Regions from separate parts of the Homo sapiens genome. Here regions 1, 2 and 3 are each linked to region 4. Evidence: promoter capture Hi-C in human tissues and cell types (Jung and others, 2019). All regions are on one chromosome and are shown on one strand. The core of a region is centred on a gene start or on the middle of the fragment in contact, and the rest is flanking DNA. Distances in the headings are between cores, read along the strand shown.

Region 1 (6,279 bases), core at 2,231-4,730, 140 kb before region 4:
TCAAAAATCAGTTGCACAAGTTGTATGAAACCAGGTATTCTGCAGCTCTGTCTCTTGTTTATTAAGATATGCACAGTTTCTGAATCAACAAATATATCTGTGATTCTTTTATACTACTACATAAAAGAACAGGAGTAATTCTTGCCTTATAAATTAAATGTCAAACATTTCCTATATGTAATCATTTGTTCCTAAAATATGATTTAGTCCCAGCATGCTTATCCCTGTTTTCTCTTTTTCTCTCCAGCTCCTATCTAGTTCTTCAACAAATCCTGTCAACTCTACCTTCCAAATGCCTCTTGAATCCAGCCATCTCACCACCTCCAACACTACCACCATTTTTCTTAAAGCCACCATCATCTCTTCCCTGGACTATTACAATACCTTCCTAATTATCTCCCTGCCTCTGCTATTGATTCTTTAGGGTCCGTTTTCCACACAGTAGCCAAAGCAATTTTTAAAAAAATTATTTTAAAATGTGATTCTCTTCTTTGTGGCTTTCCATCACAGCCTAGAAAAAATTGAAAGATCTGTAAGGCCCTAATGACCTGTCCTTCACTACGTGTCTGACCCTATAGCCTACTGTTCTCCCCTTGTGCGGTGTACTGCAGCCACGTTGGCCTTCTTGCTATTCTTTGAATACAAGGGAGCTTCTACTTCAAGGCATTTACATTGGCTGTTGCCTTAGCTTAGAACGCTCTTTCTCCAGATAGCCGCAGAGCCCGCTCTCTCACCTGACTCATGTCTCTGCTCAAATGTTAATGATCAAGAGGCAGTCCCCGGCCTCCCTCTTAAAATTACAACCTGTCACTCTCCAATCCTTTCCTCACGATTTTCTCAAAAGCACTTACCGCTAACCAACATTATATCTAAATTTTTTTTTGTCTCTTTTTATTGGAATGTAAGTTTCATGTAAGCAGGAACTGTATATCACTGCTATACCCTCAGCATTTAAAACAATGGCTGTACATCATACATACTCAATAAATATTTGTTGGATAAACTACAAGAATTCTGGTATTTGAGAGCCAAAGGGCCTTAAGAGACCATCTCATATAGCCCCCTCATTGTCCAGATGGGGAAAACGGGAACCCAGAGAGACAAAGCGATTTGGCCAGGGTCACCTGGTTAATGGGAGAGCTTTAGGTAGAACCCAGGCCTGCAAACATCTAGTCCAGTGTTCAGCAAACTGGCCTCTGCCTCCTAATTTTGTATAGCCTACAAGTTAAGAATGATTTTTTTTTCATTTTCGAGTGGTTGAGAAAAAAAGTAAACAAAATATATATACTATATTGTGACATGAAAATGATACGAAATTCAAATCTCAGTGTATGTTAATAACTATTAGAACACAACCATGCCCAGGCATTTACATGTGGCTGTTTTCCCCATATAATAGAAGAGTTGAATAGTTGGCAATGAAGACTGTGGCCTACAAAACCTGAAATATATACTATCGGTCCCTTTACAGGAAAAATTTGCCAAACCCTACTCTAAACAATATTCCATGACTGGAAATGTGTTTTCTAAAATTCTCGTATTAATGCAGAGAATAAAAGCAACAGATGTCAGAATGATGTGCACCGAATATTGTTTCTTAGTCAATGTCTCTGACCCCTTACACATCTTTTGGGATAGAGAACTGGCTGTGCCAGCCCTAGTGGCATCACTGTACTGCTTAAGGCTATCAATGTGGGCTAAATCCTCTCATTGTCCCTGTGAGGAAACTAAGGCCGTAAGAACTTGGGCTTCAGATTTAGACTTGTAGCCCCAGCTATGTAAGCAGATTTGTCAGGACTCCCAGCTCAAGTGACAAAAACACTACTCCAACTCCCTTGCGGTAGAACATGTATTGGTTCATGTAACTGAGAAGTCCAGGTGTTCAGTGAAATGGTTAGGATTCTGTCTATCTCTTGATTGTGTTTTCCTCTGGGTTGGTTTCATTCTCAAGCAGGCTCTTCCTTGTGGTCTCTGGAGAGACCTCTTGAATCCCAGGTTAAAAAGAAAAAAACAAAAACCCAAAAAAAACAGATCTGTCAGAATTTATCCGAGTACGCAGGTCTGTGTCTTCTTTCCTCTGCATTCAATCTTAAACTTGGCTAAGATTACTGATTATGCTGAATGACATTTAATTTTTACATGCCCTGTGACTTTTCTAAACTAGAAGCATAATTTTAAATTTTCACCTTAAAAAACAAGTTATGTGTTCCTCTTCTGAAAACAGGCCTATCCCATTTGAGAAGCTTTCTGGTGGGCGACCTCATCAGAAGGAAGGTTACTCATTCCTGAAACAGATGGCATTTGCCATGTGTGATGCGTGGAGGGTGTAAAGATGATGAGGCAGGAGCCCTGTGCACTGTGATGTACCGTGATAAAGGGACGACTCAGCAGCTTCAAGACACCAGAGGATGGGAACCAGGCTGGGAATGGGACATGGTGACATAGGTGATTTCCCCCCGAGCTGAGCGGCCAAACGATGTTTAATAAGCTGCGTAAACGGTTTAAGGGGGACGTTGAACAAAGAACAAAGCCCCAAAGTGAGAGATATTAAGATTTAATCTAAGTAAGGAGTTAAGATACTTCCAAATACCTAGAACCATAGGATAAGCCAGGTTTATGAGGCCTTCTACAAATCAGTCCCACTAGGCATTCTCCTAACCAGACTAAACTATTTGTGCACCCTAAACATGATGGACTCTCCTGGATTCCCCTGTCCTTGTACAAGATGTGCCTTCTACCTGGGAAGTCCCTTCTGCCCACCCCCACCACTTGTCTAACAGATATTTTCCCACCCATGCTCATTCCTATAAGGCAGTTAATTGCCTTTCTGCGTCTTAACGACCTGGGTCTGTTTTAGCACTTATCACTACATATAATGTGCTTTATAATTTAAAAAACGATTCTCACCAAAAGTAAGATGAGTTTCAGGGGCAAATTACCTCCCAGAAAGCAAACAAGCCAACTCTCTTCTCATAGATGGGGTAAATTCCAGCTGCTGTAAAATCTCCACTTCCAAGGCTTCCGCTGCTATCCCTACCCTGATATCTCTGAAATTCCTTCTCTTAGATCCAGGCTCTCTTCTGAGCTGCAGAGCCATATGTCCCGTTCACTCCTGGGCACTTCCACTTGAATATTCCCTTGGTACATTGACTCAAAACCGAGCTCATGGATCCCTCTTGCCCTTCCTCAATTGCTCCCATGTTCTGTGTCACTGGGAAAAATAAAATAAACTATTAGAAACCTGAGAGTTATCTTGAACATTTTCCACTCCCCCACTCCCTATATCCAGTCTCCTAAATGTTATATAGCTGATGATATCATATATGATACATTTGTATGTATTTATACCATATATACTACATATATATGATTCTATATATAACCTTAATATGTAAAGTTGGTTAGACGTGGTGGCTCACGCCTGTAATCCCAGCACTTTGGCCAAGGCAGGCAGATCACTTCACGCCAGGAGTTTGAGACCAGCCTGGCAAAATAGTGAAACCACGTCTCTACTAAAAATACAAAAAATTGGCTGGGCACGGTGGCTCATGCCTGTAATCTCAGCACTTTGGGAGGCCAAGGCAGGCGAATCACCTGAGGTCAGGAGTTGGAGACCAGCCTGACCAACATGGAGAAACCCCATCTCTACTAAAAATACAAAATTAGCTGGGCGTGGTGGCACATGCCTGCAATCCCAGCTACTTGGGAGGCTGAGGCAGGAGAATCGCTTGAACCCAGGAGGTGGAAGTTGCGGTGAGCCGAGATTACGCCATTGCACTCCAGCCTGGGCGAGAAGAGCAAAACTCTGTCTCAAATAAACAAAAGCAAAAGCAAAAAATTAGCTGGACATGGAGGCACGTGCCAGTAATCCAGCTACTCAGGAGGCTGAGGCATAAGAATCACTTGAACCCAGGAGGTAGAGGTTGCAGTGAGCCGAGATGGTGCTACTGCACTCCAGCCTGGGCGACAGAACGAGACTCTGCCTCAAGGAAAAAAAAAAAAAAGATGATTAGAAAACTGGATGTGTTGTAGATATGTATATGATGATATACAACATAATAAAGTAAAATAATAAACTTTTAATTATTTTATTTCTGTTCATCCTCCTTGTTCCTGCAGCTGCCTCATTCCTTCTCCCTTAGATTACTAGTTAATAAACGTTCAGTATTGCTGCAATCAATTAAGTACTTACCCCTTCAAATCTATCTTCAAACCAACTACTTAAGTCATCTTTCCAAATCTCCAACTTCACCATGTCATCTCCATGCTGACAAGCCCCTCATAGTTCCTATTTTGAAGTTGAAATTCCTTGGCATTCTATAGAAGACTATTTGTGAGGCTATGTGTAAGCTGTATCTACCCTCTGCTGGAAAAAGATTAATACGGGAGATTTATTTTCAATCATGTGGTCAGGGTAGAATTCTCTGAGGAGGGAACATCTAGCACCTTGAGGATCCCCACTTAGCTAGTGCCTTCTGTGTGACCATTACCTCATCTTCTTAGTGGTAACAGTGATAACAATGTCTCTTGGTGGCCAAGAACTTAACTCGTAGATGCATCATGGTCTCCTGGTATCATCACAGCACTTGTCAATGGGTTATCTATTAATCCCCATTTTACGGTTGAGGGAACTAAGGCTCATAGAGTTTGTGACTTGCCTTCGGCCCCCCAACCAGTGTGTAACAGGGTCAGGTTATCAATATAGGCCACCTGGCTCCAACCCCGGAATCCTTAACCACTGTGCTGTGCAACTCCTGCAGGATGCTGCTTCCTGTGTCACTGTAGGCTTGTAGACTCCAGCTTCCAAGATGAATCTAACCTCGTCAACACTCAGCTCCCCACAATCTGGCTCCTGTCTACTTCCCTAGCCTCATCTCCCTTTGTTGCCCCAGCAAACACTAACTGGGCCGCCACTCTTTATCCTGGTCCAACTCCTTTCTGCTCTTGCCTGTCTGTACTTACTCATCCTTCAGGACTTATCTGAAACGTCACCTCCTCTAGGAAGCCTTCCTGATCCACCACCCATAAGCCAGGTTAAGTGACCCTCCTCCTTGCTTCTATAGCACCCTTTGTAGCACCTGTCACACTGCACTGAGTTGCTGGCTTTCTTCTCTCTTAAGAGACTGTGGGCTCCTCAAGGGCAGGGACAAGGACAGCTTCCTCTATTTCCTGGGCCTAGTGTGGAACCTGGTATGGAGTAAATGCTTCACAAATGTCTGCTGACCTGAACTTACTTAGCGAATGTCAGAGCTTCCTGGAAGGGGACTTCCAGTAACTATAATTGTTCACATTTGCAATATGCTTTGAGGTATGCAATATTGCTTTGCCATATACTTTGAAGCTTTGATTTGTCCCCTGCCTTCATAAAGAATTTGATGTGGTACCTAGTAGAATAACAAACAGAAAATTCAGAGAGCCCGTGCCACAATGACGGCTAATGTTTATTGATTGACTACTGTGTGCCAGGCATATTTCTGAGTCCTGTCACATGGATCATTTGCGTAATTTTCACAACCATAGGAGTTGAACTCGGTTATCCTCACTTAACAGATGAGGAAACTGAGGCTGATGAGTGACTGAAGAACTTTTCCAGGATTACCCAAGTAATAAAGGGAAGTGACAAGGTTGACATTAAGGCCATCTGGCCCCGGAGTTTTGTGCTTCTCAAATCCCTTTCACACTGATTATCTTATTGACTCCTCTGAGATTGATATTGTTCCCAGATATTGATATTAAGAAAAATGTGTTTCAGATAAGTGACTTTTCCAAGTTCAGCGTGCCAGGAAGTGGCTGGGCTGGGTTGGTGGTCTATCTTACGCCCAGGCTCGCTCCGTCACTTCCACATCGCTGATTCACACGCGCATTTTGCAAACAAGGACACTGAGGCCAGGAGAGGTAAATTGCCGGCCTAGGGTCATACAGTTTGTACCCCATTCTGTGCTCTTTCCTCAAACAGGAAATACCTAGGAAGCTGATGGGGTGAGGGTAGGTCCTAGGCTTGGAAGGGGGGTGCTGCCGTGTCTCTTCCCATTGTCCCTTTCTCATTTGTCACAATCTGAATGTTTAAATTTCGTATTTAGTATTTACTCTGAAATGGCTTTCATCTGATTTCCCCCTTGCTCACCAATTTAGCTGTCAAAGTAAATAAATGTGAAGCTGGGTCTCCAGCCTCCCCCAGCTCACATTACCTTCCTAGAATTACTCCCCGGCAGGGTCGAACCATTGCTGGGGGCCTCCCACAGAATTATCCAGTTACTAATGAAGCCTCTTTCAAACTGA
Region 2 (6,368 bases), core at 2,142-4,641, 240 kb before region 4:
AAAAAAAAAAAAAAAAAGAGATGATAGGGTAGCAGAACTGGGAATGGGGCCCAGGTCTGGAGTCACCAGAATCCTGATCTTCTTGCTTTTCTGGGGACCAGCAGATGAGGCACAAGCTGGGCCTGGTGGGGCTACGGAAGTAGACCCCAGTCAAAAGCAGATCTTGGTCAAGAACCCCAGCCCCAGGCTGCAGGCAGCACAGCTACTGTACTCCAGGCCCTGGGTGACAGCCCCCACCCCACCTCCATCCCCACCAGGCCTGCCTCAGCCTCACTCCTGGGCTGCCCCTCTGCCTCTGTGTCCAGCGCCCTCCAGAAAGCCTGCCCTGATTCCCCCAAGCCAAGCTTCCATCTTCCTCATACTCAGGCACTCTGCTTATGCCTTCTGTACTCCCCTTCATTAACTCAAAGTGTGTTTAAGCCATTTCACTCACATGGCCTCACCTGCCCAGGGATGTGGGGGTCCTCCCTTCGGAAGGTCAAGTGGTGCCAAGGGACTGAGCACAAGCTCTGGAGCCAGAATAGACCAGGATTCAAATCCTAGCTGGGATCATTATTAGCAGTGTGATTCAGGAAAATCACTTTACTTCTCTAGATCTCAATTTCCTGAACTGTAAAGCGAAAACAATAGTAATAGCATCTCCCTCAGCGGCTGCTGTGAAGATTAAATGAGGCAATGCTTGTCAGATGCCCCAGCACGAGGCCTCTACTCACGGAAGCTGCTGCCTTAATCACTTTTAGCTGCCCGGTTCATTGTTGACTCTCAGTAAGTTCTGATCATTCCTTTTGCTGCTACGAGGGATGCTCAATTTTAAAAAGAAAAAGGAAAAAAGCCTCTGAGCCTGGCTCTTCACACTGCCAGGATGTGGCCCTTGCCACTTCTGCCTCATGTCCTGAGACTTTCTTTTGGGACCCCTGACTCTGCATTTGTACTTCACGTGCTCATGGTTCCCTGTCCCCTCTCCAGGGTTTCTTACCTCCTGCCTCTGCCTGTACCATTCTGGACACCTGGCACTCCTTCTCCATGCCCCATTTATGCATGTCTCAATTCTATGATTCACTCATATTTACTCATTCATTTATTCATAACAAATGTTTTATTAAGTCTACTTTGTGCCCAGCTCTCTACTAGCTACTTTCACATAAGATAATCTTCTTGACAGCCTTGCAGGGGAAGGAGTATTGTCTGCATTTTATAGAGGAAGAAACTGGGCTCAGAGAGGTTCAGTCACTTGCCCGAGATGACACAGCTAGCACGTGGCAGAGCTGGGATTTGTCGTGGTCCTATCAGTCTCCAGAGCTCAGCTATTTCCTCTCCATCCTGCAGGTGCGCAGGTTGGAAAGCAGGCGTGGTAGGGGAAGGCAGCCCTTTGTGCCTGGGTGGGAGAGAGGGGAGTAGGGAAAGGTGAGGCAAGGTAGATTCATTCTGCCAGGAGAACCTGGGGGAGGGGAGGCAGGAAGGGAGCTTCTTTGGGGGCAGCTGGCCGCAGACAGCAGCAGGTTTGTCTAGGATGATCCCAGTCGGCTTGAAGAGTCAGTGGGAGTCCTCTTGAACCCTCCCCACCCAACTCCAGCCCCCTCTTCCAGCCTGAGTGAGAATAGGTCTGTGATGAAAGAGAGCTGGCTGCTTCCCAGCCGTCCTTCCCTCGTCCTGGGAGGGAAGGACAGATGACCCAGTGCAGGTCACTGTAGGAAGGCTCCAAAGAGTTCAGAAATGAGCCGCTCCCCAACCTCCTCCTTCCAGGGCCACAGCTCTAAAGGAAGCAGTCCTGGGGATCTCAACTCTGCCAATCCCAGACAGAGGCCAGCTCTGGGCAACACGTGACCTGACAGCAAAGGAGCAGATGTGGCCTGGCAAAGGGAACAGACAACCAGACCCAGGGAGATGAGGAGATGGACAGGGAGGCAAGGGAAGGGATGGGGGAGGAAGGGACAAGGAGACATACAGGGAGATGGAGACAGGGAAACAGGAGAGAAATGTACACAGAGATGCAAGCAGAAAGAGCCTAGGGAAGCTGAGCGAAAGCAGAAGCAGAGGTATAGGCATGGGCAATGACTGGATGAGTGGGGGCGTCCATTCAACCAGGAAAGAAGACATCTTCCTGACTGCACACAGGACAGAATGATGAGGGAATGGTCCCCAGGGGCAGCCAGAGGAACAAGAAAGTGGCCCCCAGCCTGCATCAGGAGACTCTCACTTCAATGCTGTGTGACTTTTTACCCAGACCTCCCCTCTCCAGACTTCAGTAGTCCCACCAGCCACACAGGAGCCCTCTGCTTCAATTCAGATTCCTGCATCTCTACAAGCCCCGTCTAGGGAGCCGAGGGCAGTGACAGGAAAGAACCTGAGCCCGGAGCGGTGGCTGCACAGGCGTGTCTCGTTCCTGACCATGGCTGGCTATGACCCCAGCCACTTCCAGGTTCCCTTGTGTCCATGATGGCAGTAGCTTGGGTCCCTGAATTTTTGTGCATCCACATGTCTCTCTCTGCATCCTGTCAGGTCTGTGTTTACGTTTGAAGGTTTTATAAAGAAGCTGCCCAAAGGAAGTGAGGTTTGCAAAGTGCAGACCGTCGTCTTGGCTCTAATGCTTAGCGTGTGGGATGCTCAGCTGTTAGCCCTGGGTCCTCTTCCTCCCCACACCTCCCTCCAGCCTTGTGCCTAGTGTTGAGTCCAGGCCCGGACTATGAATCGTGACAGCCACCAGAAGCATTTGGAGGACAGACCAGGATAGGAGGCTGGAGGATGGCTTCTGGGAATGGAAGCTGCAGGAATCGAGAAGACCAGCCCTAGGAAGGTGACCCAGGAGAGCACAGTCACCAGCTGCTGACCTCAGGGGCTACAACGGGGCAAAGGAGCAGAGGTGGGCTGGGCCCAGAGCGCACAGTCAGGGCTGGGGAGGGTGGCTTCAGGAGTCATAGAAAGCACCTTCTCGCTATGGAACTGTGGGAGGCGGAAGAGGGTCCTTGCAGGGAAGGAGTTTCTCATTCCCAGGGAGGAGAAGTTGCCAAACCACTGGACAGAGGTGTCGTAGAGAGGATTCAAGCATCAGATAAGGGATGGATTAGGAGACTTCTGAGGCCCAATTCTGAGAATATCCTGGCCCTCCACCCAATAAAGCAATAGAGAAATCCAGAAAATGATGCCGGAGACAACTGCCTCAGGCTCCAAAATTTCCCACCTGCCTCGGGCTGGCTTTTGTCTCTTACTGGTTGCCCACACGGCCACAGCTTAAGCCCTCCAGAGGGAGTAATGACAGTGATTATGATCATAACAGCAGCAGCAAATACACAGCAGGAATGCACTGCTATAGCCCCACCAGTTGTTAAAAGATTGAAACATGTCCACACCAGTTGTTAAATAGCCACTGCTCCAAGCATCTTGAGCACACCCTCCCCTGCCAGCCCAGCTGCCAGGGCCTTAACTTCACATTCCAGTCTCTGCCCAGAGAGAGAGCCTGTCCTACTCGGAGCATCCCTGTGCTTCAGTTCACCTGGAGAACACTATCCTGAATGGGGTGCCCAGCCTTGGCCACAGAGGCTGCCCACTGCAGGGTGCCCCCTCCTCCAAGGCCCCTCTCCCAAAGCCTGAGCAATCAAGGCTGCTGCCTCCCTGGGCTGGTGCAAGTGCCCGCCTCCTCCCGGCCCCTCTCCTCGGCTGCAAACCCAGCTCATTTGCATGTGGATCGCGCCTGCCACCATGGGTGCTGGGGTCAATTGAAACTCAAGAAAAGAGAAGAAATTTATGCAAAACTGTTGATTGCATTTGTATGTAATGAAATCATCCAATATTCATCTGACTATAGAATCTAATCTGAGAAGAGAACTGAAGGACATGAGTGTCACTGCAAAACCGTAATGAGCCACTGTAGTGATTAAAAAAGCTCTTGAGCCTTCTGAAAATCCAGGCAGAAATAGCGTCTAATCAACTCTGAATATAGGAGGCGAGATTGGGCTGGCGCGTTGCGCACGGCCCGCCGCGGTGCTGGGGGTGCGTGGTAAACCCTGGCGGCCGCGGTCTGTGGGTGCCAATCGCCCGGCACCCACCACAATCAGCCGAGCCCTCGGCGCACAAAGCAATCTCTGCCTCTCGCCATGCAGAAAGAGCCCAATCACAGCTGTTGTGAAGAGCAGCTTGAGGCTTCTGCACCGGCCTCAAAAGCCTCACCTAAGGCCTCTTCTGGGTTCCTTGCTCCAACCGAGAGGCAGGAAGAGTTTGGGGACCTGGGCCTGCCATACCTGGACACACCTGTGGCCCAGACAGCCCCAGGCAGGGGAGGGTCTGTGTCTCGCAGAAGCCCTCGCTCATCACTGAAATGTCACCTCCTCTGTGAGGCATTCCCTGACTGCCCCATCTAAACTGACAACCCCCACCCCCTCACCACCACCCTCCCAATTCTTTAACTCCTGCTTTGTTTTCCTTCACAGCACTCAGCTATGCCTGGCACTAAGTTATTTCTCTATGGATTTAATGCCTGCCTCTCCCAAGTAGACCGTGAGCTCCACAAAGGCAGGGACTTTGTGATGGTTTGTTTACCCTGTGGAGTGTGGAGAACCATGCCTGGCACTTAGTAGGTGCTCAACAAGTATCTACCAAGATGCTTAAATATTTGTTGAATGGCTACATCAGTTTCACTAGGAAGCCACATGTATTTATTTGTGCATTCAGCAAATACTTGTTGAGTGTACAGTGTGTGTCAGGCTTCATCCTGGGGACTGAGCGTGCAGTGTGAATGAGACAGTTCTTGCCTTCTCAGAGCTCACAGTTGGGGCAGGAGACAGATGCGAAAGTCGTTACATATAATCAGATGGGATAGTGCGGTGCTGGGGGCAGACCAGAGGCTCTCAGAGCTGCTAAACCCAATCTGGGGAGGTCAGGGAAGGCTGCCCGGAGGGAGTGACATTGGGTTGAGAGCTAACGGACATATAGAAGTTAGCAAGGCCAGTAGGGCCTGGAATGTCCCAGGCAGAGGGAACACCACGTGCAAAGTCCCTGAAGTGACAGCCACCGGTGGGGAGCTGAGAGACGCCAGAGCAAGGAGAGGCTGGGGTGAGATGGGGTCAGAGAGATGGTCAAGCCTTGCAGTTAAGACCTTGGGTTAAGAATTTTGGATTTTTTCCTGGAGGTCATAGGGAGCCTCTGAAGGCTAGTGGCCTGATTTGCGTTTGAAGAATTTACCCTCTGGAGAAAACGGATCAGAGGGCCAGGCATGAAGAACAGAGAGACTGGTTAGGAGGCTATTCAGTCATCCAGGTAAGGGGGAGCCACTGAATGTTTTTGAGCAGGATGTTATAGCAAAGGCTGTGTTTTTGTTGTTGTTGTTATTGTTTGTTTTGTTTTTTGAGACAGAGTTTTCGCTTGTTGCCAGGCTGGAGTGCAATGACACAATCTCAGCTCACCGCTACCTCTGCCTCCCGGGTTCAAGTGATTCTCCTGCCTCAGCCTCCTGAGTAGCTGGGATTACAGGCATGGGCCACCAGGTGCAGCTAATTTTGTATTTTTAGAAGAGATGGGGTTTCTCCATGTTGGTCAGGCCGGTCTCAAACTCCTGACCTCGGGTGATCGGCCCGCCTCGGCCTCCCAAAGTGCTGGGATTACAGACATGAGCCACCGCGCCCTACCTAGGCTGTGTTTTAAGGTTATTAATCTGACGGCAAGAGATAGAGGAGAGGAAGGGAAGTGAGGTAGAAGCCAGAAATCAGCCTGGCAGTCCATTCATTCATTCATTCATTTGTGTATTCCTCATTCAACAGACATCTCTGTGTGAAAGCTGCCCTTCTCCACATTGTAATTTATAGTTTCCAATCTGCTCTGGGTTTTGATACCAAGTTACCTATTATTAACACAGGTTCTAAAGCTGTAGTCAGTCAGTTCTGAGACTCCAACGGACTCTGTGGATCATGAGGCTGCTTATTTTGGCATGGACTTTCTGACATCAAAGTGTTCTTGTGAGTCATTTGCCCTGTTTAGGCCTTAAATTCCTCATCACTACAAAGAGGGCGCCAAACTAGATTATCTCTAAGACCCTTCTCTGCTCCCCAAACCCTGCAATTTTTTGCCCCATGAAGGCTTAAAGACATCTCAAACCCCGGCAGCTTAAAAATCCCAAAGTGCGGTCTGACCTGCAGTCTGTTAGACTCCACTGGGCAGCCAAAGGAGCAGGGAGGAAATCAGGAAATCTGGGTTCAAGTCCCAGCTCTGCTATTCACTGACTGTGTCGTCAGTGGATGAGTTCTTCCCCTCTCTGTGCTTCAGTATCCCACTTGTAAAACATGGAGCTGTCTAGAAGTGGGAAGAGCTATAGCAGACCCAAGACACATCCACCTCCTAACAGGTCAGATGGGAGTCCCAGTTCCAACACTCACTGCATC
Region 3 (6,929 bases), core at 1,149-3,648, 200 kb before region 4:
AAAAAATTTAAACTAAGATACTTGACACTTGGGAACTGGTTAATGTAAGTGTAAAATGCCAATAGTACACCTTTAGAAAAAGAGTGAGGAAGAATTCTCATAACAGAGAGCAATGGCACACTGTTAAGTTTTTTTTTTTAGGTACAGAACACTATGTATAGTATAATCCCATATCATTACAAGAAAAATGAAGGAGATACCAGACATATGCTTGACTTTGCATTGGAAAAAATCTAGAAAATCAAGGTACTAAAAGTGGTTCCCTAAGGAGAAAAGGATGGAGGCATTTTCTCTTTTTTTTTGAGATGGAGTCTCACTTGGTCGCCCAGGTTGGGGTGCAATGGCACGATCTCGGCTCACTGCAACCTCCACCTCCCGGGTTCAAGCGATTCACCTCAGCTTCCTGAGTAGCTGGGATTACAGGCGCACGCCACCATGCCCAGCTAATTTTTGTATTTTTAGTAGAGATGGGGTTTCATCATGTTGGTCAGGCTGGTCTTGAACTTCTGACCTTGTGATCTGCCTGCCTCGGCCTCCCAAAGTGCTGGGATTACAGGTGTAAGCCACTGTGCTTAGCCTCATTTAAATATTTTATGTAATTTTATTTAAAATAAAACCAACAGAGACGCTGATGAAGGAATCGGAAGACAATCAAGGAAAGATGCAAACTTGGTGAGGAATGAGTCAATCATCTGTAGTTTTGTTTCCTGGGTGAATTCATAGTTTCCTTATAGCATTATTTAAAGCCAGGCATGAACTCAGCAATCTCAAACCAAAGCACCACTATTCTACTTAGTGTGGTTTTCCCATAGACATTTGGTAAAACAATGAGTAAGGGAGTGTATTCTTATTTGTTTATTTGCTTGGGGGCATAATGATGATGTGAATAAGGTGGAGGCAGAAACCTGGCCTGAACAAAATGAACCCCTGATCAAAACTTTTCAGGGCCCCTGATTAAGGAGTGAAAAGACTGATATTCCAGATAAATCTTCTATCAGGAGACAGGAACAGGAAGAAAGGCAGTGACAAAGACCCCAATTCTAACCCTGCTTCTGCCACTTACTAGCTATCTGATATTGGGCATCAACTTCTATGAGCTTCAGGACTCTCATCAGTCAAATGAGCCTAAAATAGTCTCTTCACCACATAGTGTTGTAAGAATTTGGGGAGAAATTGTAAAGTGTTCAGCTCAACACTTCCAGGCATTATACCTCTAGTTTAGGTGGTTGATAAATGGTACCTAAAATGTAATTACATGAATTGGAAAAATAGAAGAAACTATTTCAGTATATCTCCATTAACAGGAATGTCCCAAAAAAACCAATCCAGTTGACTAACTTATCTAAATAAAAATCACTGCCAGAGAAGCAAACAAAAGCTATCCACATTGTCAGTGGGAAAAGATATAATCCAGAGCCCCTAAGACTCAATGGTTATTTACCTGAGGAGACAGCCACGATAAAAAAAAAACTCGCAAACAGCCACGCAGAGCTGAGTCTCAGAGGCTGTAAAAAGAGGTCTTGATGATAAGGACCACTCAGGCTCCAAGCCTGGCCTGTTACTGATTTAGGATTTATCTTTTACCTACTTCCCCAAAAGATCAGAGGCAGATTATAGTTAAGAGTCACATACTCAGTAGACTCATTTAAATAAGAATATAAGAATCAGAGGAATGTAATGAGGGTGAGGTAATAGGTGAGATCTGCTTCAATTGAAAATAAAATTTAGTTCTGGGTATCCAGAGTTAAGGCAAAAAAGCAAACCTATAGACTATCATTAGGCAGTGGAAGAATCAGGATCAATCAGAGGAGGCAAATTTTCCTAGAACTAAACTCAAACTTTTATAATCAGAAACTGATCTAAGGGGCCAGGCGCAGTGGCTTACAACTGTAATCCCAGCACTTTGGGTGGCCGAAGTGGGCAGATCACTTGAGGTCAAGAGTTCGAGACCAGCCTGGCTAACATGGTGAAATCCCGTCTCTACTAAAAATACAAAAATTAGCCAGACGTGGTGGCGGGCGCCTGTAATCCCAGCTACCTGGGAGGCTGAGGCAGGAGAATTGCTTGAACCTGGGAGGCGCAGGCTGCAGTGAGCTGGGATCGCACCACTGCACTCCAGCCTGGGCTACACAGTAAGACTCCATCTCAAAAAAAAAAAAAAAGGAAACTGATCTTAAGAATGTATGCTTCCTATTTCCCCTACCCCTCAAAGTCCCAACTTAAGATATGATGTGTTATTTTCCTCCTCACCGCTTTGTCAATTACCAGCTGTGTGACCCAGAACCAATGCCTCACCTCTCTGAATCTCATTTTCTTCATCCCTAAAAAGGAATGATGCTCCTATTTGTGAAAGGGGATGATGGAAATAGCATATTTGCTAGCATTAATTGGGTGCTTACTAAGCATCAAAAGCTTCATGTACATTATCTCACTGAAATCTCCCAATAAGCATATATGGCAAGTCCTGTAAATTATCATTTCACAGATGAGCTGCCTGAGATTCACAGAGGCAGAGACAGGTGCCACTGTCACACAGCTAAAAAGCAGGAAATGTTGGAACTCAATTTCATGCTTACGTGACACCAACGCAAAATTTAACCATTATACTTTTCTGCTTTCCTGAATATGTAAGGCACCTAACCATTCCTGGCACATAGTAGGTGCTCGACCTATTAGTTCCCTTCTTCCCTCCATCCTTTTCTCCTAAAATTATATAATATGTAGAAAATTAAAAGTTTACTGAAGTAATATCTTATGTTTATATAGTTTAAGGAAATCATACCACTTAATTTATTTTCTCTATTAATCTCACCACATCTCTGCTTATCATTATGCACTAACCTATTTTACAAATAAGGAACTAGAAGGCAGCAAGCAACTAGGGCGCTGTGCCCAGAGTCATATGGAAGTCACTGCTAAAACCAAATAAAAACCTCGATCCTCTTACTTATAAATCAACCTTTATCCTCTCACGTAACACAGCCTCTATAATAAAGAACAGATCATTCATTTTTTATCTGGAAAACTACCAAACGTTATAATTCAGTAAGGGGCCTCATGACCCCACCACCTTGTCAAAGGGAAGAAAGTATATAAAAAAATGAGGTTTGCAGGAGCAGACGGTTTTGGTCCATCAACTTTCTCTTGGATTACACCCATTAACCAAAATAAAATAATGTAAAAAATAATGTAACAGATCCTCTTATCTTTGGAAATTCGAGTTAAACTCACTGATCTTTCAAACTTACATACAATGCACCGACAGTGATCATTTACTCTTGCGGGGCTGCAGAAATGCATGTTATGTCAACCAGATCTTTGAAAGAAAAATGTGATACACAACTGAGTCACCCTAAGAAGAATCCAAATCAGCAATGAGCATTTAGTAGCACAAATTCATAGCCCCACAGTATTTTGGAGCTTCAGAAACGACCTGGCAGGCCACTAAGAACAACCCCTTCATCTGACATGTGAGGAAGCCAAGGCTCAGGGAGGTTAAGTGACTGTCCAAGGTTTCACAAACAGGACAGCAAAAACTAGAAAATAAGCCTGCTGACTACTATCTATTACTCTTGTAAATCTTGCTTCTAACGTCCATGTGTACATTTAGCACTTTCCAGAATTATGCATCTACACAGAAAATGCAGGAGAAAGGTAACAGAAAAACTCAGGCTTCAAATCCTGACTGCCATTTACTGGTCATGTGATCTCGGGCAAGTCCCTTAATTTCTCTGAACTTCACATTTTTCATCTATAAATGTGGGCCCTAGTAATTTCCACAAGTAAGTTGGAGGCAATACAAACAAGAGGCCTGGCACACAGCCTGTGAGCTCCATGAAGGCATACATCACGTCTATACATCCCCAGCACAGAGCCTGGCACATACGCATTCTCAGAACATTCACTAAGCAAATCAATGAACTTGCCAAACAAACTTGAACTATCTGGTTCAAGCAGAAAGACTTGAACCTAGGTCTATCTGCTTCTTAAACGTTAGGTTATATTGTTCCCAATTCACATGATTTCAAAGCAGAGTGTTACTTCAGCCTCACAGAGTACTGAGAACACAATGGAACAAGACAGCTATTTTCTGGCCACGAGGCAGGAAAAAGTTCAGTGTGGAAAGTTTCTGGACTCCCGTGTTGGGATTGATTCTTGTTGTCTGCATGGGTATGGGTACATCATGAGGCTTTGTTATCAACTAAACCTGGGTTTGGGTCCCAGCTTCAGCACAAGCTGTGTGGCTTCAAAGACATGAGCCTAAATTTCCACAACTAGGAAAAAACCTACTTTACAGGGATTAGACAAATGAGGTAATATATGTAAAGGAATACAGGATAATGTGTGGCACTAAAAGACACTCAACTAGTGTTCAACTCCATTTCCCTTTTAGTTATCTGGAAGCTTTGTTCATTAGGTCTTTGTTCAAATGTCCCTTTCTTCATGACCCTCCCTATCCATAATAAAAGCCCCAAATCTCCCTATCCCCTTACTTTGCTTGTTTTTCTTCATTGTCCTTACTATCACTTGACATTCCATTACGTACTTATTTACTGTGCCTATGCAACTATCAGGGAAGCCCGAGGAAGAGAGGGACTTTTTGTTGTTTGTTTTGTTTACTGCTATATTCCAACAACTAAGAAAGTATCTGGCATGTCATTAGTACTTAATAAATATTTGTTGAAAGACTGAACGAGTTAATTCAACACTTATTTGGGCCTTGCTATATATGAGGCACTGTGTAGGAATAGGGATTTAAATCTTTTGCTGTGGAATCGGAGAAGATGTGTCTCACCTGGACTGCTGCAGGTGCCTCCTGACTGTTCCCCTTGTGTCCACTTTGTACCCCTATAGTCCATTTGTTAAACCAGCAGTCAGAGAGACCCTCACATAGTCAACATCAGATCAGGTCATTCCCCTGCTTAAATCCTTCCACTGACTTCCCATCACAGTGAGAATAAAGCCCACTCACCATGACTTATAATGCCTAAACCATCAGCCTCTACTGACTAGTCCAACCTCCTCTCCTACCACCCTCTCCCTGCATTTCACACACACTGGCTTTTTTCTTTCTCAAAAAGGTCAAGGTCTTATATTTTCTCTTCTTTTTTTAAATTTAAAAATGAACATTTTTATTCACTTAAAACTTTAAGTTCTATATATTTATATAATTAACAATATTCTGTTCTCAGCTTAAAATTCTTCGACTAGCAAGGACTAATGTAAAAAAAATAGCTCTTCAAAGAATATAAGTTAGAGACTACCAGTGTCAAGGTCTTTTCAAACTGGAGGCCTTTCTGCTTGCTGTTCACGCTGCCCAAAATGCTCTCCCCTAGGCTGGTTCTTTCTCATCATTTAGCTCTTAGCAAAAATGTTACCTGCATAAAGAGTCTTCTCAGGCTACAGGTGCCCCTGCCACCATCATCCTTACCAAGTCACTCTCTATTGGATCCCACTGTCTTTTCTTTCCTCATAGCATTTCATTATCTGGAATGACTTTATTTATTTGTCCTACCTTCCCAACCAGAATGTAAACTATGTAAGGACAACAAATTCTCAAGCTTACTGCTGCAAACCTCACATCTAGTACATAACAGGCGCTCAATAAGTATTTCTGAATCAGTAAAGTGATCTCAAAAGATGTTTGCCAGGGTGAAAGGTACAGGTAAGGTATGTTATTGGCCTAACGGTATAGTAGGGTATTTGTTGGTTTCCTTCCAAGGACAACCACCCCGTTTCATCAAAATATGTGAATTTCAGCCAAACTTACTGGGGAATGGGTACCCGAATTAGCGTCCCTTCCACTTCTGGGTTCAGATTCATTCCACTTTCTCTTATAGCCTTGATAGCTGCAGCTGTACACTGAAAACCAGATCAAAAGGTAAACAGAATTAGTAAATAATTATTACCAGATGCAAGCCCTCTGTCGATAACTGGCAACCCATCTTGGCAGAACATGGAAACATTTAGTTCTGTTACCAGTAAGATCAGGAAGTTACATTGGTGTAGAGTGCTTTGATCAAGCTGAATAGCAAACTATGTCCACTCCTGGTACCACTGTACTGCAGGAGGAAAAAAAGAAAGAAGAAAAAATAAAAAGAAAACAGCTCTGCCTCTTTGAAAAGATTTCAATGGTTTGAGGCAACACAGATCAAAACCACAATAAATCCTCAAGGGAGGGGGGCTGGTCTCTGCAAAGATTGGTGTAAAGACAGATGAAAGATTTCATACGTAAAAAAATCCAGTTGACATTTTACACTCAAAATATACCAGTGCCGATTTGGAATGAGTAAATAAATTTAACTCATTCGCATCTGCACTCACACCAAACTCACTCATATTTTGGAATGAGCAATGAATCTCTGCTGGTATATGCTCCCGCAAAGGTAGTGTGGTATACTAGCTTAAAGCATGGGCTTTGGAGTCAGAAAGATCTCAGTTCACATCCCAGCTCTGGTAACCATGTGACCCTGGGCATATGCTTGACCTCTCTGAACCTATATTTCATCATCTGAGACCATGTGGTCCCTAAACCTCAGAGAGGTAGTGAAATAACATGAGCGATGCATCTTGCTCTGTGCCTGGGACATAGTAATACTCAGGCAAGGGCAGTTATATGAACATATTATATACATTTATTATATAAAGGTAAGAATGCATAAAACTCTCAAACAAGGTGGAGTTGATGTCTTCATGTAGCTGATGTACTGCTAACCTGCCCAACATCCTTCAGGGGTTTCTCTGACAGTTTGCTCACTAATGTGCCAGCTGGCACACTGGCACACCCATTTCCCAAAGTGCCTCACCTCACACTCAAGCAACATTATAACTATACCTTGTATGCAATCCTAGAGATCCTTTCATTGGCATGACAATGTGGAACTCATGAAAACAAAGCCTCTGACATTTTCAAAGAATTTTAGGCTTGA
Region 4 (6,960 bases), core at 1,384-3,883:
TATATATATATATATATATATATGTTTTTTTTTTTTTTTTTTTTTTTTTTTTGAGACCGAGTCTCACTCTGTCGCCCAGGCTGGAGTGCAGTGGCGCGATCTCGGCAAATTTCAAGCATGGATGACTGAATGAAGGTAGTGCCACTTGCTGAGATCAAGGACACCAGGAGGAGGGACAGGATTTGGGGGGTAGGTTTGTGGAGAGAAATGGGGGGACAGTGAGGCCTTCTTACTGATACCACGGACAGCTCCAAGAATTTCCAGAGGACTTGCATCAGACTCTATGAGTGGTTCTTGCCTCCGCTGCCTTAGAATCAGCGGAGGAGCTAATTTAACATGCAGATTCCCAGGTCCACCCAGATGTGCTGCATCACAGTCTCTGGGGGTGGGGTCCAGGAGCCTGCATTTTAAATAAACACCCCGGGTTGTTCCCATGCAAGTGGCCAGACGACCATGCTTACAGAAACTCTGAAACAAAGTCATGAAGGGAACAGATGCGAGCGCCCTCTGCTGCTAAAAAGGAGGTTTGGATCTCTTAAGTTTATGACTTGGACATTTCAAGGCAGTTTATTCAGCAAGTGAAACCCCTGGACTAAAGCAAAGAAACAAGACACCTGGAGAGATGAGAGAGGAAGAGGGGCCACGTTCCTTGACAACTTCTGTGTTTCTTTCACCCTGTAGTGTCGAGCGAGGCAAAGTTCCCCTGTGTGCAGTCGTGGCCGCTGTGGTCAGTCTGGGGTGCTGTTACACCTTCTCAACCCCACTTCCTAAAAAAACAAATGCGGCTCCCTCAGGTGGGAGGGGAGAGCTTTCTCCTTGGTTTGGCTTTAAAATGATGGCAACTCCCAAAAATGGAAAGCAGGGGCTCAAACAGGTATTTGTATACCAATGTTAACCGACATTCTTCACAATAGCCAAAAGGTGGAAACAACCTAAGTCCATTGACAGATGAATGGATAAAAACGAGGTGGTGTATGCACACGACGAAATATTTTTCAGTCTTAAAAATGAGTGAAATTTGGACTCATGCTACAACATGGAGAAACCTTGAGGACATTATGCTACGTGAAATAAGCCAGACAAATACTGTATGATTCCACTGACATGAGGAACCAGGAATAGTCAAATTCATAGTCAGAAAGTAGAAATGGTGGTTCCCAGGGACTAGGAGAGAAGGGAATCCCGACTTATTGTTTCATAGACACAAAGTTTCAGTTTGGTAAGATAAAAGAGTTCCGGAGACCCATAGTGGTGCTGGTTGCACAACAATGTGAGTATACAGAATGCCACTGAATTGTACACTAAAAATGGTTAAAATGGCAAATTTTGTTATATTTTACCACAACAAAAAAAGTGATATAAGTAAAAGCAGTCAGGCTGGACGTGGTGGCTCACGCTTGTAATCTCAGCACTTTGGGAGGCTGAGGCGGGTGGATCATCTGAGGTCGGGAGTTAGAGACCAGCCTGGCCAAGATGGTGAAACCCCGTCTATACTAAAAATACAAAAAATTAGCCGGGCATGGTGGCCGGCTCCTGCAATCCCAGCTACTCACAAGGCTGAGGCAGGAGAATTGCTTGAAGCCGGGAGGCGGAGGCTGCAATGAGCCGAGATCACACCATTGCATCCCAGCCTGGGCGACAAGAGCGAAACTCTGTAACAACATCAACAACAACAACAAAACAAAAACAAAAACAAAAAAGAAAACAAGAGACGCGGTGGTTCTGCTTGTAATCCTAGTACTTTGGGAGGCCGAGGCTGGCAGATTACCTGAGGTCAGGAGTTTGAGAACAGCCTCGGCAACATGGCGAAACCACGTTTCTACGAGAAACACAAAACTTAGCCGGGAGTGGTGGTACATTCGTGTAGTCTCAGCTACTCGGGAGGTTGGGGTGGGAGGATCCCTTGAGCTCTGGAAGTTGAGGCTGCTGCAGTGAGCCGGGATCGCGCCACTGCACTCCAGCCTGGGCGACAGAGAGAGACCCTGTCTAAAAAAAAAAAAAAAAAAGAAAAAAAGAAAAGAAAAAGAAAAAATCGTTAATATCCTCAACTCGAGTGGGAATCTATAGGGGGCTTACCCATGCCCATGACTTCCCCATCCCATCGGGAGCTCCCTGAGAACAGGGAAAAGTGCCTCCCCTCTTATCTGGGGGCGCTCAAAGGACCAGCAGAGGGTTTCTTCAGCGGAACACTCTCTGCTCCCCTAGGGCCTGGGCTGCTCACATCCATCGCACTGAGGAGGGTCCCATCCATTGCACTGAGGAGGGTCCCATCCATTGCACTGAGGAGGGTCCCACTGGGGGGCTCCTCCTCCGTCCTATCGAGAGTTATCCCAGCGAGTGTTGGCGGGGACTGAGCCTCCTGCTTGAGGTAGTTGTTTTTACTCCCAGTCCCCAGGCTCACGAGCCCCACGCGCGCTCAATCTGCCCTCCCGCTTCTCCTCGCCACTCCGAGTTCTGCGCCCTCGAGATCCAGCGCATCCGCGGGGTGGGCGGGTCCTGGCGGCTCTTTGCCCTCTTCCAACATGGCCGCCGCTGCCTCTGTGACAGGCAGGGTCACGTGGGCAGCCTCGCCTATGAGGTCGCTGGGGCTCGGCCGGCGATTGTCCCTTCCCGGACCCCGTCTCGATGCGGTGACTGCCGCTGTCAACCCGAGCCTGAGCGATCATGGCAACGGGCTCGGGCGGGGAACGCGTGGCAGCGGCTGCAGCGGCGGCAGTTTGGTGGCGGACTGGGGCGGCGGAGCGGCGGCGGCGGCGGCGGTGGCACTGGCACTGGCCCCGGCCCTGAGCACCATGCGGCGGGGCAGCTCCGAGAGCGAGCTGGCGGCCCGGTGGGAGGCGGAGGCGGTGGCTGCGGCCAAAGCGGCGGCCAAAGCTGAGGCCGAGGCCACAGCGGAGACGGTGGCGGAACAGGTCCGCGTGGACGCGGGCGCGGCCGGGGAACCGGAGTGCAAGGCAGGGGAGGAGCAGCCCAAGGTCCTGGCCCCGGCCCCGGCGCAGCCCAGTGCGGCTGAGGAGGGGAACACCCAGGTCCTTCAGCGGCCGCCGCCCACGCTGCCCCCGTCCAAGCCGAAGCCGGTGCAGGGCCTCTGCCCGCACGGGAAGCCCCGGGACAAGGGCCGAAGCTGCAAGCGGAGCTCGGGCCACGGTTCCGGCGAGAACGGCTCCCAGCGGCCGGTCACCGTGGACAGCTCCAAGGCCAGGACCTCCCTGGATGCCCTGAAGATCAGCATCCGCCAGCTCAAGTGGAAGGAGGTGAGGCCCGGCCCGACCCGGCCGCGTGGGCACAGTGGGGTGGACAGGACGACCTCAGAGGTCTCGGCACGGCCCAGGTCAGGTCGGCGGGCGAGGGCTGAGCTCCTGCGGTGCACCACGCTCGGGCCTGCTTGTCAGCCGCAAAGTGCTCATCCTTCAAGGCCTACCCCCCAAAATCACTTCCTCCAAGAGGGCCCCCCAGACCCCTCCAGGTCAAGTTAGCCACTCACTCCTCTGCCTCCCTGCAGCTCTTTTTATGTCTCAGCCATCAGCATTTGCCTCTGCTTGTAGATATGTGTACGTCTGTCTCCTCCACCAGCTTGTAAGCCCCTGGGGCCCCGGACCCGCTCTCTCACTTCTTCATTGAAGTTATATTTGTTTAGCACTTGCTGTGTGACTCTTGGGCAGAGGAACACTTTTTATTTTGGAGGCAGACAGGCCTAGGGTCTCACTACACTTTGCTACTTAGCTGTGTGACCTTGAGTAAGTTGCTTCACCTCTTCAGCCTATTACCTTCTCTGTAAAGTGAGGCCAATTATACTTATCTCATCATCTTGTTAGCATTAGAAGACTCACTACTTAGTGTTTTATAGCACAAGTCTGCAATAAATGGTAACTTACGTTACCACCTTCTCCTTTCTCTCTTCTTCCACCATCATCACCATCACCACCACCAGCACCACCACTGTCCTCATGATCAGTGGTATAAAATCAGGCACTGTATTTTATATTCCAGGCTTGGCTTACGGCATGTGTCAGTAAGCAGTGAATGAAAGGGTGAATGAATACATGAGTTATCATCCCTGAGCCCATTTTAGACTGGCAGGGGATGGAATGTAGCACCAGTGACTCTAGAGGTGTCTGTTGCAATTGGCTACGTGGATAAAGCCATTTGACTTTATTTGCAGCATATAAGGTATTTAATGTGCTTTCAGGAGTGTCAGGAGTTTGATTAAGGATAGCTGAGTGTGGACACAGCCAGTGGTAACAGGGATCTGCTGCGGGTAACAGAGGACTCAGGTTCTTAGCCCTGTGCCTTGGCTATGGTAGATGCTCGGTAATGGTTTCATTAAGTTGGAACATACAGAGAGATGGCCACAGAAAGGACTGATGTGGTCAGAGGGTTGATGTCCCAATAGGAAAAAGTGCATTTGGTTTGGAGGGAAGTCAAGGATCAGGCAGAACCGACTTCCAGGTGGATAGGGTGTAGCCGTTGGGGAAGTTTGACTCCAAGTGTCTGGGCCCCCAGCCTTGGGGCTTGGGATTCAGAGGGGAACTTTCATGCTGGGGAAACTTGGGGAAAACAAAGGCAGGCTCTCAGTTCTAAAGTATCTGGGTTTCTAGGCAGGGCCCCAGGTCCAGGCCAGAGATATGAGGGCTAGAAAAGGTACAACTGGACAACTTGTCAGTGCCGTGGTCTTAATGAAGGGAGAATCCAGCAAATAAAACCAGGCTATGGAGTCAGGCTAGGCAGATTGGCCCAAGTGGGGCCTCCACTTAGCTTATCCCTGTGGGAGAGAGAGACATAAAGCAGGCCAGATCTCGTTTGCTCGGAGAGATGGGGCCAGATGGACTAATACATCCCAGCCCAGGTTCGTTCACTCATTCCGTAAATGTCCACTTTGGAGGTGCCAAGTTCTTTGCTGGGCCCTGGGAACCAAACATACTTAAGATGTGACCCTTGCCCCCAAGGACTTCATGGTTCAATAGGGAATAAAACACAAGTAAAGGAATAATTGCGGTCATTACAGGTCATTACATTGCTGCTGCATCCTGAAATTCTCCCTTTTCATTTATTTGCATGGCTTACTCTTGTCACTTCTTTAGATGATACCTTCCCCATCAATCTCCAGCCCTTGGTATTTATTTTTTTTCCATAGTACTAAACTTCGCCAGGCATTATATTATGTATTGCTTGTTTATTGTCGTTTCCCTCACTAGAATGTAAGCTCCATGAGGGCAGGGGCTTTGTTTTGTTTATTGCTGTACCCGCAGGTACTTGGCACACAGAAGTTGCTCAATAAATATTCGTTGAATGAATGAATACATTATGTGATGAGTGTTTCTGTGTGAAAGGAGAAATGCTGCGGGAGGTAGAGGAGGGGCACCCAGGAAGGACTTCCTGGAGGAAATAAACCCGAGCTGAGTTGTGAGTGCTGAAAATGAACTGGAGTTATTTAGGGTCATGGACTTTGGATCCCTGGTTGCAGGAGTGGTGTGGGCAAAGCAGAGGCCCTTTCAGGACTTTGAGTATGGCCGGATCATAGCGTGGGAGGTGGAGTGGTAAGAGATGGGGCTTCAGAAATGAGCAGGGATCAGATCATGTGCCATGCGATGGGATTTGGACCTGTTTTGGGGAGGAAGGCTATGTGAGCCATTAACAGAATTTTGATGTTCTTCCATTTATCAGGGCAAGTCAGTTAAACCCTTGAGGCCTCAGTTTGCTTATCTGTAAAGTAGGGGTGGACAGAGCTAATTCAGCAGTTTCCAGTCTTTCTACTTCGGTAGCCGCATAATGGTAATGTTGATCTACTCTCTACTTCGGTAGCCGCATAATGGTAATGTTGATCTACATGAGACTGTTGCACTGGTCACCCCCAGTGGGTAGGCTTTTTCCAAGGCACTACCTGTAACTGCTTCTTCCACCTCCAACCCTGCCCTTTTTTTCCCACTCAGAGAACACATTGGCATATAGGTGGAGATGTTTATTCTAGTATATTTTAAAACATAATTCACTGAATGTGGTGGCTCATGCCTGTAATTCCACCTACTTGGGAGGCTGAGGTGGGAGGATCACTTGAGTCCAGGAGTTCAAGGATGCAGTGAGCTATGATTGTGCCACTGCACACCAGCCTGGGTGACAGAGCAAGACCCTGTCTCTAAAAAAAATATTGAAAATTAAAAAAACAATTCACTTGCAACAATAAGACTCTACTATTAGGCTTGTGATTATTACTGTCACCCTTCCTCATTACTGCATGAAGTCCTGAGGGCAGGGGTGGTATCTGACTTATGTCCCTAATGCACAGCATATTCTAGGTGCTCAATAAATATTCATCAAATGAATTATGGAATATTTGCAAGAGAGCTTACATCACATCTTGACACCCTAGTGTGGAGGTTGAAAAGTGCCAGAGTAGCTAAACTTTAAAGTTCCTTCCTGCTTTAAACTATGATTATAGTATTCTTAGTACCTCCTACAAAGTTGACTGCATGAAAACTAACATATATATATATCCCTGGTACTAACAAAGTGCAAACACATGACCTTTCTTATGCCTGCCTTTCCCCATCTGTTATGAGGTGATATTGGATGAGATCATCTTGAACTCCCAGCGCTGTTTTAGGAGCAAGAACTTCTACTGGGGGCTGTGGTGCAAGGGTGTGAGCAACAGTATCTCTTGCAGCCCATGCTGTGTTGCTGTGGGTTTGGGGAGTACTCAGGTGGCTGGCTTTGGTGGGAGTGGATGAGTAGCCCAGGTAAGAAATAAGGTCATGAACACCAACCAGAGTGAGAGCTGTGTCTCCTTTTATGGGTGCATAGTGAGGAGCTATATATCACCGTCCACTTTAACAGGGTAGGACTGAGCCAGCATGTGAATTCAGAAGTTTGCTCAGCTGCAGGGCACACAATCTCGCTTCCTTTTTCACTTTTTTTTTTTTTTTTTTTGAGACAGGGTGTCGTTCTGTCATCCAGGCTGGAGTG

The links. The method cuts DNA at HindIII sites, captures the fragments that hold promoters and counts their contacts. A contact is called where the count stands out against the background at its distance.
Region 1: a contact is called between a fragment that was not itself captured here and the fragment with the promoter of TTLL11 in region 4, in 3 of the 25 tissues and cell types used here (pancreas, spleen and thymus).
Region 2: a fragment that was not itself captured here is called in contact with the fragment with the promoter of TTLL11 in region 4 in 1 of the 25 tissues and cell types used here (lymphoblastoid cells).
Region 3: a fragment that was not itself captured here is called in contact with the fragment with the promoter of TTLL11 in region 4 in 2 of the 25 tissues and cell types used here (bladder and thymus).

Annotation. Positions count from the first base shown.
Region 1 is chr9:122,232,931-122,239,209 of GRCh38, reverse strand. RBM18 (RNA binding motif protein 18) reads left to right here. Exons shown (of 6, transcript NM_033117.4): 6 at 1-1,588. Among named protein-coding and RNA genes, the nearest start is that of LHX6, 7.1 kb to the right of the region's middle. RefSeq lists a silencer at 1,674-1,874. The HindIII fragment of the contact is 6,020 bases long and covers 471-6,279 here.
Region 2 is chr9:122,334,674-122,341,041 of GRCh38, reverse strand. No RefSeq gene overlaps it. Among named protein-coding and RNA genes, the nearest start is that of PTGS1, 33 kb to the left of the region's middle. RefSeq lists enhancers at 3,363-3,966, 3,967-4,572. The HindIII fragment of the contact is 6,762 bases long and covers 11-6,368 here.
Region 3 is chr9:122,290,682-122,297,610 of GRCh38, reverse strand. It overlaps MRRF (mitochondrial ribosome recycling factor), which reads right to left. Exons shown (of 7, transcript NM_138777.5): 5 at 5,771-5,862. Among named protein-coding and RNA genes, the nearest start is that of MRRF, 29 kb to the right of the region's middle. The HindIII fragment of the contact is 5,171 bases long and covers 1-4,983 here.
Region 4 is chr9:122,088,981-122,095,940 of GRCh38, reverse strand. TTLL11 (tubulin tyrosine ligase like 11) reads left to right here and starts at 2,633. Exons shown (of 9, transcript NM_001139442.2): 1 at 2,633-3,254. The coding sequence starts at 2,793. It overlaps LOC124902263 (a long non-coding RNA gene), which reads right to left and starts at 1,809. Exons shown (of 2, transcript XR_007061757.1): 1 at 1,769-1,809; 2 at 541-767. It overlaps LOC124902262 (a long non-coding RNA gene), which reads right to left. Exons shown (of 3, transcript XR_007061755.1): 3 at 4,662-4,904. RefSeq lists enhancers at 2,453-2,642, 2,392-3,105 and a silencer at 2,993-3,042. The HindIII fragment of the contact is 16,076 bases long and covers 1-6,960 here.